Regions from separate parts of the Homo sapiens genome. Here region 2 is linked to region 1. The links are contacts of gene promoters, found by promoter capture Hi-C in human tissues and cell types (Jung and others, 2019). All regions are on one chromosome and are shown on one strand. Each heading gives the region's core, a stretch centred on a gene start or on the middle of the fragment in contact. The rest is flanking DNA. Distances are from core to core; before and after follow the strand shown.

Region 1 (5,313 bases), core at 2,558-5,057:
GAGATGGCACCACTGCACTCCAGCCTGGGCAACAGAGTGAGACTCCATCTCAAACAAACAAACAAACAAACAAACAAAAAAACCAAAAACCATTCTCGGCCAGGTGCCATGGTTCATGCCAGTAATCCCAGTGCGTTGGGAGGCCAAGGTGGGAGGATCACTTGAGCCCATGAATTTGAGACCAGCCTGGACAACATAGTGGGATCCTATCTCTACAAAACAATAAAAGTATTAGCTGGGCATGGTGGTGAGCACTTGTGGTCCCAGCTATCTGGGAGGCTGAGGTGGGAAGATTGCTTAAGCCTGGGAGGTAGAGGTTGCAGTGAGCTGAGATCGTGCCACTGCACTCCAGCCTGGGTGACAGAGTGAAACCCTGTCTCAAAAAAACTAGGTTGCGCACGGTGGCTCACACCTGTAATCCCAGAACTTTGGGAGGCTGAGGCCGGCGGATCACCTGAGATCAGGAGTTTGAGACCAGCCTGGCCAACATAGTGAAATCCCATCTGTACTAAAATACAAAAATTAGCTGGGCGTGGTGGCAGGTGCCTGTAATCCCAGCTACTCGGGAGGCTGAGGCAGGAGAATCACTTGAACCTGGGAGGTGGAGGTTGTGGTGAGCCGAGATGGCACCACTGCACTCCAGCCTGGGCAAAAGAGCAAGACTCCATCTCAAAAACAAAACAAAACTACAACATAGCTGTGTGCCCATGTGCACACAGAGTCCCACGAGCTCACAATACACATATACACACAATACACACGCAAACACAATCAATGCTGAGAAAAATGCTCACTTAGGTCACATGGGCCGCACTAACTCTACAGAGAGTCACAATCCGGTTACACACCCACAGTCCCCAGCACACTAGCCTCAATCTCTCTCCCCTCCCGGGTGCTGTGTGTGCGTCCCTAATCTCAGTGGTCTCTGAGCTGTCCTTCCTCTTTTTCCCTGCTGCTTCAGGGTCCCCCTCAGGGAGGCCTGGTCCTGTTCCTCGCCATGGGTGGAGAGAGTGTGAGATGGAGGCTACGGACCCACGCCCCCAGGGCAGTTCCTTCCATAGCTCCGCCCACCCTGGAAGCTGCCCCTGGCACAACGCACCGTGGGTGATTTCTCACCCCAAGGCACCTGGCTGGGGAGTGGAACCCCCGTGTGGACCCTGCTGTGGGCTTGGCCCGGCTAGCTGGGGCCACGGCCAAGCAGGAGGCTGGGTTTCAGGGCAAGGTGACTGAGGCATGTCTGGCGCCAGTACGGACTCTGGGGAACTCAGTCCCCTCATTAGGAGGGAGTCACAGTCACTGCCACCCCTACCTGCTCCTGATGCAGGAACACAGAACCGATCCTGGGGTTGCGAGGGCTCATGACTCCTAGTGGCATCGGCGGGGAAACTGAGGCCTGAGGCCAGGCGTGGTGGCCTATAATCCCAGCACTTTGGGAAGCCGAGGTAGGCAGATCACTTGAGTCCAGGAGTTTGAGACCAGCCTGGGTGACACAGTGAAACCCTGTCTTTACAAAAATACAAAAATTAGCTAGCGTGGCAGTGGGTGCCTGTAGTCCCAGCTACTCAGGAGGCTGAGGTGGGAGGATCGCTTGAACCCCAGAGGTAGAGGTTGCAGTGAACCGAGATTGCAGCACTACACTCCAGCCTGGGTGACAGAGCAAGACCCTGTCTCAAAAACAAACGAACAGCCAGGCAAGGTGGTTCACGCCTGTAATCCCAGCACTATGGGAGGCCGAGGCGGGCGGATCACCTGAGGTCAGGCGTTCAAGACCAGCCTGGCCAACATGGTGAAACCCCACCTCTACTAAAAATATAAAAATTGGGCGCAGTGGCACATGCCTGTAATCCCAGCTACTCGGGAGGCTGAGGCACGAGAGTCGCTTGAACCCGGGAGGCGGAGGTTGCAGTGAGCTGAGATCATGCCAGTGTACTCCAGCCTGGGTGACAGAGCAAGATTCCATCTCAAAACAAAAACAAACAAGCAAAAAGAAAAACAACAACAAAAAAGAAACTGAGGCCTGGAAGGGACAAGGGTTTGACTGTGGTCCCACTGGGCATGGGAGCAGAGGGGACTTCCTGAATGTTAACCGTCCTTGTAACAGGAAGCGAGAGAGGGAGTCTCCGGGAACCAGAGGCCCCCCCGATGCCGAAACAAGATGCACGCCTGCCAGGCATCATCCTTCATTAATATGATATAACTTCCTGAGTTCCCTCTGGTCTGTCTGGGGACCTCACGGCATGAGGCGGGACAACGTGGCAGGACCTGGAGCCCACATGTACAGGCACCCCCAGAGCAGGGCTGGGGGGTCCCTTAGGGAGCCACGGTGGGGCTGGAACTTGGGCGTCCATCCTGCTGGAAGCTGCGGGTGCCAGCTGGGCAAGGGTGATAGGGAGATGGGGGGGAGGGGCAAAGGGGTTGTGGTCACACACCGGGGTACAGAGGGCAAGACGGCAGCTGCCCACAGTCCAGTCCTTGGGTTGGACACATCCCTCCTGGCCTTGGACAAGAGACACCCGCACAGCCTCTCTCCTTGTTACAAAGACCAATCTGGGATGTGCTGCAGGCCGAGGCTGGCCACCAGGTCCCTGAGGCCCGTGTTACCCCACGCACAGAGAAGGAGGCTGAAGTCTACCAGCTCCCTCTCCTCACCTGGGACCATCTCGCAGCAAGAAAAAAGGTGGTCAGATGGAAACAGGAAGCCAAGTCGAATGGATCTGAGACCGTCCCCCTGAGAAACAGCGGGGCTCAGAGAGGGTCTCTGAGGTTTTATCTGGCCCTTTTGGGCTGGGAGGCTGCCTGGGAAGCCACCGACTCCGTGGGAAGGGAGACCCGTGAACGCTGTGCGGGTAGCGGGAACATGTGGGTCTGTCACACTGGCCCGAGGCTGCAGCGGTGGTGGCTTGGCTGTGTTTGGGGAGGGTGGGGGACACATGGCAGCAATGTTGGAGCTGTGGACAGCTTCCTGTGATCAAAATATGATTCCTGAAGGTCAAGGTCACCAGAGCTTGGCCTGGGGCCTAGGGGTGCTGTGCGAGAAGTCGGACGGTGGCCCAGTGCTACCTTTCCATCATGGGCCATGGAAGTCTCCCAAGCCTGTCCCTGACAACTGGACACCAAATACACCCCTTCATGCTTTCTTCTCGGGTCTCTGCAGGGTGAGCTGGGTGCCCAGGGACAGGCTCGAGGGACTGGCATGTCTCTCTCTGGCCAAGCCTCCTTCCTCAGCTTTCTGGAAGGAGTGAATTGTGTCCAGGGACCAGAACTCTCAGTGGTGTCTGGAAAACACTACATCAGAGAGGAATTTCCTGGTCATTTCTCAATCCCTGGGCAATGTCCTCAGCCCCGGGGCCTGGAGCCCAGAATAGATCCCAGAGGCCACCCTGAGACAGCCCAGGCCAAGACCACCCCACTGAAGCCTGGTCAACTGTGCTCTTCAGGTCCCTCCTAGAGGCCCCCTACTACCCCGGGAGGCTCCAAGCCTAAGTGATGGTGACTCAGGAATTCCCCACCCAGGCCAGAGAGGGAGACACTGGGGGAGGGAGGAGACCTGTGTGTGGGGAGGTGGCAGGTGGCTCAGTGATGGGAACCAAGAGAGGATGTGGGGAGGAGAGTGGAGGCAGCGATGGGAGATGGATGTCCTGGATTGGGCGGGTGGACGGGGAGTGGGGAGTGTGCCAGGGGGCCCTCTGGAGAACAGTGAGGGAGGGCGGGGCAGAGAGAGGAAATGAAAAAGCTGGGGTGAGCAGGCAAGCTGAGGAGGGTGGGAAGGAGGGAGGGACGGAGGGAGGAGGGAAGGAGAAGCTGACACACAGACCGACACAGGCAGCGAGAGACACGAGGAGCAAAGCAAGTGAAGGCACAGACGCACGGGACAGGAGAGCCTGGGCAAGACTGGAGAGGTGCGGTGAGGGGCTGGGGATGCAGCAACACAGAGCAGGAGCAGGTAGAGGGTGTGGGGTTAGAGGGAGAAAGGTACGGGGAGGACAAGGACAAGGGAGGGGACAGAGACAGGGAGATATCAGCAAGAGACCGAGAGACAGGGAGGGAAAGAACTGGCAATGCCCGGATGTTCTCTGTCTCTTTAATGGCAGAAACAGAGCTAGAGAAGGAAAGAAACAGGAGGTGGTGGGGGGGTGGTGGGTGTCAGGCATGGTGGCTCACACCTGTAATCTCAGCACTTTGGGAAGCCAAGGTGGATGGATCACCTGAGGTCAGGAGTTCGAGACCAGCCTGACCAACATGGTGGAACCCCGTCTCTACTGAAAATACAAAAATTAGCTGGGCGTGGTAGTGGACGCCTGTAATCTCATCTACTCCAGAGGCTGGGGCAGGAGAATCGCTTGAACCCAGGAGGTGGAGGTTGCAGTGAGCCGAGATCATGCCATTGCTCTCCATCCTGGACAACAGAGTGAGACTCTGTCTCAAAAGAAACGAAAGAAAAGAAAGAGAGAAAGAGAAACAGGAAGGTGGGGAGAGACAGAGAGAGATACTGGAGAAGCCAGAGGGGAGAGGACTGCATACCCGCACACACAGGAGAACTGGGGGTTGGCTGGGAGGCCCCAGCTGCCAAAAGGACTGGCCAGCAGGGACATCTGAGTGGGCTGGGTGGTGGGGGTAGCCCTGGCTCCCTCTGACCCCCCACCTTGGGAACCCTCCAGCCCAGACCTGGGATGGCGGATTCGTGCAGGAACCTCACCTACGTGCGGGGCTCGGTGGGGCCGGCCACCAGCACCCTGATGTTCGTGGCCGGTGTGGTGGGCAACGGGCTGGCCCTGGGCATCCTGAGCGCACGGCGACCGGCGCGCCCCTCGGCCTTCGCGGTGCTGGTGACCGGACTGGCGGCCACCGACCTGCTGGGCACCAGCTTCCTGAGCCCGGCCGTGTTCGTGGCCTATGCGCGCAACAGCTCCCTGCTGGGCCTGGCCCGAGGCGGCCCCGCCCTGTGCGATGCCTTCGCCTTCGCCATGACCTTCTTCGGCCTGGCGTCCATGCTCATCCTCTTTGCCATGGCCGTGGAGCGCTGCCTGGCGCTGAGCCACCCCTACCTCTACGCGCAGCTGGACGGGCCCCGCTGCGCCCGCCTGGCGCTGCCAGCCATCTACGCCTTCTGCGTCCTCTTCTGCGCGCTGCCCCTGCTGGGCCTGGGCCAACACCAGCAGTACTGCCCCGGCAGCTGGTGCTTCCTCCGCATGCGCTGGGCCCAGCCGGGCGGCGCCGCCTTCTCGCTGGCCTACGCCGGCCTGGTGGCCCTGCTGGTGGCTGCCATCTTCCTCTGCAACGGCTCGGTCACCCTCAGCCTCTGCCGCATGTACC
Region 2 (5,558 bases), core at 3,007-5,506, 340 kb before region 1:
CTCACGAAAGGCTGTGCGCCGCACGCCTAAGTCTAAAGAAAGAGCACTTCCCAGTTAGATTAAGCAATCTGGGAGTTAGTTCACCAGCAGCTGTAGGAAATCAGCTCAAGAAATAGTTGGCCTTTTGTCCTGCTGTGTCCCATCAGGACAACACTGCAATTTGTTCTCAGTTAGTTATAAAGCTGAAAATATATGCATATTACTTATTCTAAACACTTAGCTGGCCGGGAGCGGTGGCTCACGCCTGTAATCCCAGCACTTTGGGAGGCTGAGGTGGGTGATCACCTGAGGTCAGGATTTTGAGACCAGCCTGGCCAACATGGCGAAACCTCATCTCTACTACAAAAATACAAAAAGTAGCCTGGCGTGCTGATGCACGCCTGTAGGCCCAGCTACTCAGGAGGCTGAGGTGGGGGATCGCTTGAACCCGGGAGGCGGAGGTTGCAGTGAGCTGAGATTGTGCCACTGCACTCCAGCCTGGGTGACAGAGCGAGACTCCATCTCAAAAAACAAACAAACAAACAACACTTATTAGCCATTTCCATTTACAAGCTTGGTGGGTTTTTTTGGACAGCAGTTCTAGGAAAAACTGGGCTGATATTTTCTGAAGAACTGTGCACCACTCATCAGTGTTCTTAACATTGGGAGTTATTTCTGCAATCACATAAAAACATAAGTGAGATGGATGTATGTGAGGCCACCTCTCTGTAGGGAAGGATAAAACTGAGGGAGCCGGCCAGGTGCGGTGGCTCACACCTGTAATCCCAGCACTTTGGGAGGCCAAGGCAGGCAGATCACAAGGTCAGGAGTTTGAGACCAGCCTGACCAACTTGGTGAAACCCCGTCTCTACTAAAAATACAAAAATTAGCCAGGTGTGGTGGCGTGCGCCTGTAATCCCAGCTGCTCAGGAGGCTGAGGCAGGAGAATCGTTTGAACCTGGGAGGGGGAAGTTGCAGTGAGCCGAGATCACACCATTGCACTCCAGCCTGGGTGACAGAGCAAGACTCCGTCTCAAAAAAAAAAACCCCAAAAAAGAGAAACAAAACAAAAAAAACCCAAAAAACCAAGGGAGTCATTACACCCTGATACCCCCCAGAAGTTTGTCTATTTTTTTTGTGTGTGTGTGAGATGGAGTCTGGCTCTGTCGCCCGGGCTGGAGTACAGCGGCGTGAGCTCAGTTCACTGCAACCTCTGCCTCCCGGGTTCAAGCGATTCTCCTGCCTCCACCTCCCGAGTAGCTGGGACTACAGACGCACGCCACCACGCCCGGCTAATTTTTGTATTTTTAGTAGAGATGGGGTTTCACCATATTGGCCAGGCTGGTCTTGAACTCCTGACCTCGTGATCTGCCTGCCTCGGCCTCCCAAAGTGCTGGCATTATAGGCGTCAGTCACCGCGCCCAGCCAAGTTTGCCTATTTTTAGTTCATACACATGGAGGTGAGACACTGGAAATGGAGCCAGGTTCTACCACTCTAACACATGGAAACAGTTTGTTGGTTGCTATTTTCCCTGTGTGTCGTGTGAGTATACGTGACAATGACTGTCTGTTTTGGAGAGGATCCAATGGCAGGGGATGGGCACAGTCAAGCTAGAGGTCAGTTATAATCACTTTGGGGCCCATGGACTCACAGGGAAGCTATGCAGTCTCCTGTCACGGAGAGCTGTGAAGAGAAAATGATTTGATCTAGGCTCAATCATTCCACTTCGAGTCATCCTTTAAGTCCCAACAACTCTACCTCCCAGCCCTCCCTGGCCTCCCTGACCTCCTTTTGTAGGCTCTACATGGTTTAGGGTGAAATCTTCACCCTTACTAGATTATAAATCCCTTGAGAACAAGGCTGCATCATCGTCCTGGCTTGCTCTCGATCAGTGGTATAGTTTCCACAAACGCTGTGAATGAACAGTGATCTCTAACTTTTTCAGGGGAGGAGACGCCCCTCACTCTGATCTCCTGATGAAGGGTATAGACTCTGCACCATCCACAGGGCAAGTGTACACCTGGGTGTGTGTGCACACACACAAAATTTCCGCAGTAATGTTGAGGAGTTCAGACTTCCATAGCCTATCCACAGACCTTAGGTTAAGCACCCCTACGTAAGGAACATGCCTGCTTGCACAGTCCTTCAAGTTAGAGACTGCAGGGGTGTGAGTTTGCTCTCCCCCACATTACCTGCTCTACACTGCACTGGGTTCCTCAAATCACAAATATTTCTGCAAACACCAAGGATGGCTCTTGTAGCAGCAATATCCCATAGCATTAAGAAGTGAAACACAGCTTGTGTGCAATATATTGCCAATGGAAATAGCTTAGGGCTGGGTAAGGAAAAAGAAAAATGTTGACAGACTTAAGCCAAGATGAGATCTTGAAGTGATCAAGCCCCAAGAATTCACCCTGCACCCCATGACTTTCTTTCTTTGTCCCAATCTAATTCAATCCGTGGAAAGAAAAATTCACTAATTCCTTCAATAGATACCCGAGTGCCTACTATGGGTCACAGGTAATGGAAAGAAGAGGCAGTCTTTGCCCCAATTCCTCACAGTTCAGTAGGGGAAACAGAGAAGCCAGGCAGCGGAGCAAAGGCAGCGTGGTGGCAGTGGTGGTGTGTGCAGGGGTCCAGCTCTCCTGGTGCTGCTGCCTCACTTGCCTTGGCAGGTGGGAGGGGGGTATTCACAGAAGCATTCCTAGGAAAATACAGAGGGCAGATGGAAAAACAAAGTCCTCGAATCCAGCCCAGTAACACTTGTAGCAGACAGATCCAACAATGGCATGAGTAGATCTCCTTCAGAGAACCTAGGAAAGACGTGTTGCTTCTCTGAGCTGATGACACCCCACAGAAAACAAGTCGCTGAGTGGTTATTGAGGGCAGGACTGGTCCAACCCTCTGCCCCTAGACCTCTGCAGGAGGCAAGTGCTCTCTAAGGGTCTGTGTGTCGCAGCTCACGCGGGCTGGATGCAGACGTTCACCGAAGACACTAGTGCTGTCTCCCATCCCTGGTTGCTCCTGAGAGTGGAGCAGTGCCTCAAGCAGTCCGACAGAGTGTATGTGCCAGACAGGAGAAACCACCAGGCAGTGAGGAAGCTTTGTCAGAGCAGGTCTCTTCTCCAAGGACCCACCTCAAAAAGAACACAGGCCACTGCAGACTCAGTGAAAAATTTTAAGTAGCAAACCTGGAGTAAAACATCTATCCACCTATCCTCCGTTTATTATGATTATTATTTCACAACCGTTTTATTGAGATATAATTCACACAACATACAATTCACCCACTGTGAGAGTGTCCAATTCGATGGCTGTGAGCACATTCAGAGTTGCACAAGTATCACCACAATTTTAGAGCACTGTCATCAACACCCAAAAAACTGTATCCATGAGCAGCCACTCCAAATTTCTCCCTTCTCGCAGCCCCTGGCAACCACTCATCTACTTCTTTCTATTTTTTTTTTGAGACAGTCCTGCTCTCTGGCCCAGGCTGGAGTGCAGTGGTGCAACCTTGGCTCACTGCAACCTCTGCCTTCCAGGTTCAAGAGATTCTTCCGCCTCAGTCTCCTGAATAGCTGGGATTACAGGCACACACCACTACGCCCGGCTAATTTTTGTATTTTTAGTAGAGACAGGGTTTCATCATGTTGGCCAGGATGGTCTTGAACTCCCGACCTGAGATGATCTGCCTGCCTTGGCCTCCCAAAGTGCTGGGATTACAGGTGTGAGCCACTGCACCCGGCCCACTAATCTACTTTCTATCTTTATAGATTAGCCTATTCTAGATAATTCTGTGTAAATGAGATCATGGGCCATGTGATCTTGTGTGACTAGTTTACCTCACTTAGCGTAATGTTTTCAAGGTTCATCCATCTGTAGCACGTCACTACTTTGTTCCTTTTTACGGCCGAATAATATTCTACTGTATGAATATATTATATCTCGTTATCCATTCACTCATCAGTGGGATATTTGGGTTCTTACCATTTTGGGGCTATTATGAATAATGTGGCCTCCATATTATTTTGAACCCAAATTCTGAAGTGACCTACAGATATTTCCCCAAACTCAGGAAGGATGTGTGTGACACTTTGTGGCTGGCCTCCAGCCGAGGGACAGCAGGCTTCCCATTAGCCTTGCCGGTGGATTCCCTTGCTTTCTTCCCTCCTGCTCTGCTGACCCACAGCTCCTTCTGTCCAAGCCCATTTATTTAGATATCCCACCTAAATGTTTCACACGCATGCCCTATCAGCAACACACATGCTGTGCCCCTACACTAAACACTGGGCATTTGCTCCTGCCCAGATACTGCCACCTTGCTCAAGACCTTAGTGTTATATGAATCTTCTTCCTCCTCCCTTTCTATGTATACAATTCCACGTTTCCACCACTGAATGAAGCTTTTGAGGGGAGAGGTCTCTGGAGTGTTTCTGTGCCATTCAGTCATTCATCATCATTTACTAGAGCCCTGTATGCTTGGCTTGGAGGAGACAATGAAGATGACCCGGTCCCTTCCCTCAAGGAACTTAGGATCCATTGAGGAAGGAAGACAATCAGAGTACAGTGTGCTACGTGTTCACTGGGAAAGCACAGGGCGTGACAGACATGGCAGGGAGCCCTGGCTCACAGAGCAGGTCAGAGAAGGACTCCGGGCGTGACAGACACGGCAGGGAGCCCTGGCTCACAGAGCAGATCAGAGAAGGACTCTGGGAGGGAGTCTCGAAGTGGAACAGCAAGGAAAGGCAGTGCGGGTGAGAAATATAATGGCAGCTTAAGGAACTGTGCGTAGTTTTAATCTGTGGGCTGAAGTTTAGAGTGAATGAAGGAAATGGCAAGAGGCAGAGCTAGACAGTGGGCAGGGACCACATCCTGCTGGTAAGTAGTAGGATGAAACTTCATCCTAGAGTGATACAGAACCACTGATGAGTTTTAAGCAGGTGAAGATGAAGTGATCCCATTTATTTTGGAAAGATATTTGCAGCAGTGTGCATAAGGGACTGAAAGGACATGAGACCAGAAACAGGAAGGTCAATTACAAAGAGGCTACCACAGTAAACCAAGAAGAGGGTGAGAGACTAAACGCAGGGGCAGGGGCCAGGCTGAAAACACGCTTAGGTGGTAAAAACAATGGGACTGACTGATGAGGTTGACTGGTGTGGGAAGGTAACAAGGGAGAGACCCCCTCCCCATGGAGGACATGCTGTTGACTCAGGTCAGCAGATTCTCTGGGATGAAAACCTTCAAACCCTACCTTCCCGCAAATGGTAACGGTGAGGGCTGACAAGCTTTCTCAGGAGTGAGAAAATCCTTCTTCCAAATGAAATCTTAAACTGAACCTTAAGGCTGAAGGATCCAGAGTCCTGGTGGCCTGACCTTTCCCGTCCCCATGCAGAAGGACTCCCTTACAATTCTAGGGATCTGAGAAAAAAAAAAAAAATCTGAAAAGCCCAGGCCAAGTCCAATTGCTGGAGGCTGACGTTCAAAGGATTTTAGGGCAATATGGCTACGTGGTCAGCACGGCCTCTCACCTCTACACCTGACTCTCATTCAGTTGACTTTCCACACCTAGACTATT

What was found. Contacts are between HindIII fragments. The study calls those that stand out against the background at their distance.
Region 2: a fragment that was not itself captured here is called in contact with the fragment with the promoter of PTGIR in region 1 in 3 of the 25 tissues and cell types used here (IMR-90 fibroblasts, dorsolateral prefrontal cortex and lymphoblastoid cells).

What each region holds. Positions count from the first base shown.
Region 1 is chr19:46,623,583-46,628,895 of GRCh38, reverse strand. PTGIR (prostaglandin I2 receptor) reads left to right here and starts at 3,807. Exons shown (of 3, transcript NM_000960.4): 1 at 3,807-3,899; 2 at 4,659-5,313. The coding sequence starts at 4,671. RefSeq lists an enhancer at 3,092-3,592. The HindIII fragment of the contact is 28,599 bases long and covers 1-5,313 here.
Region 2 is chr19:46,966,974-46,972,531 of GRCh38, reverse strand. The region is part of intron 3 of ARHGAP35 (Rho GTPase activating protein 35); the gene reads right to left. Among named protein-coding and RNA genes, the nearest start is that of NPAS1, 50 kb to the left of the region's middle. The HindIII fragment of the contact is 4,877 bases long and covers 1,818-5,558 here.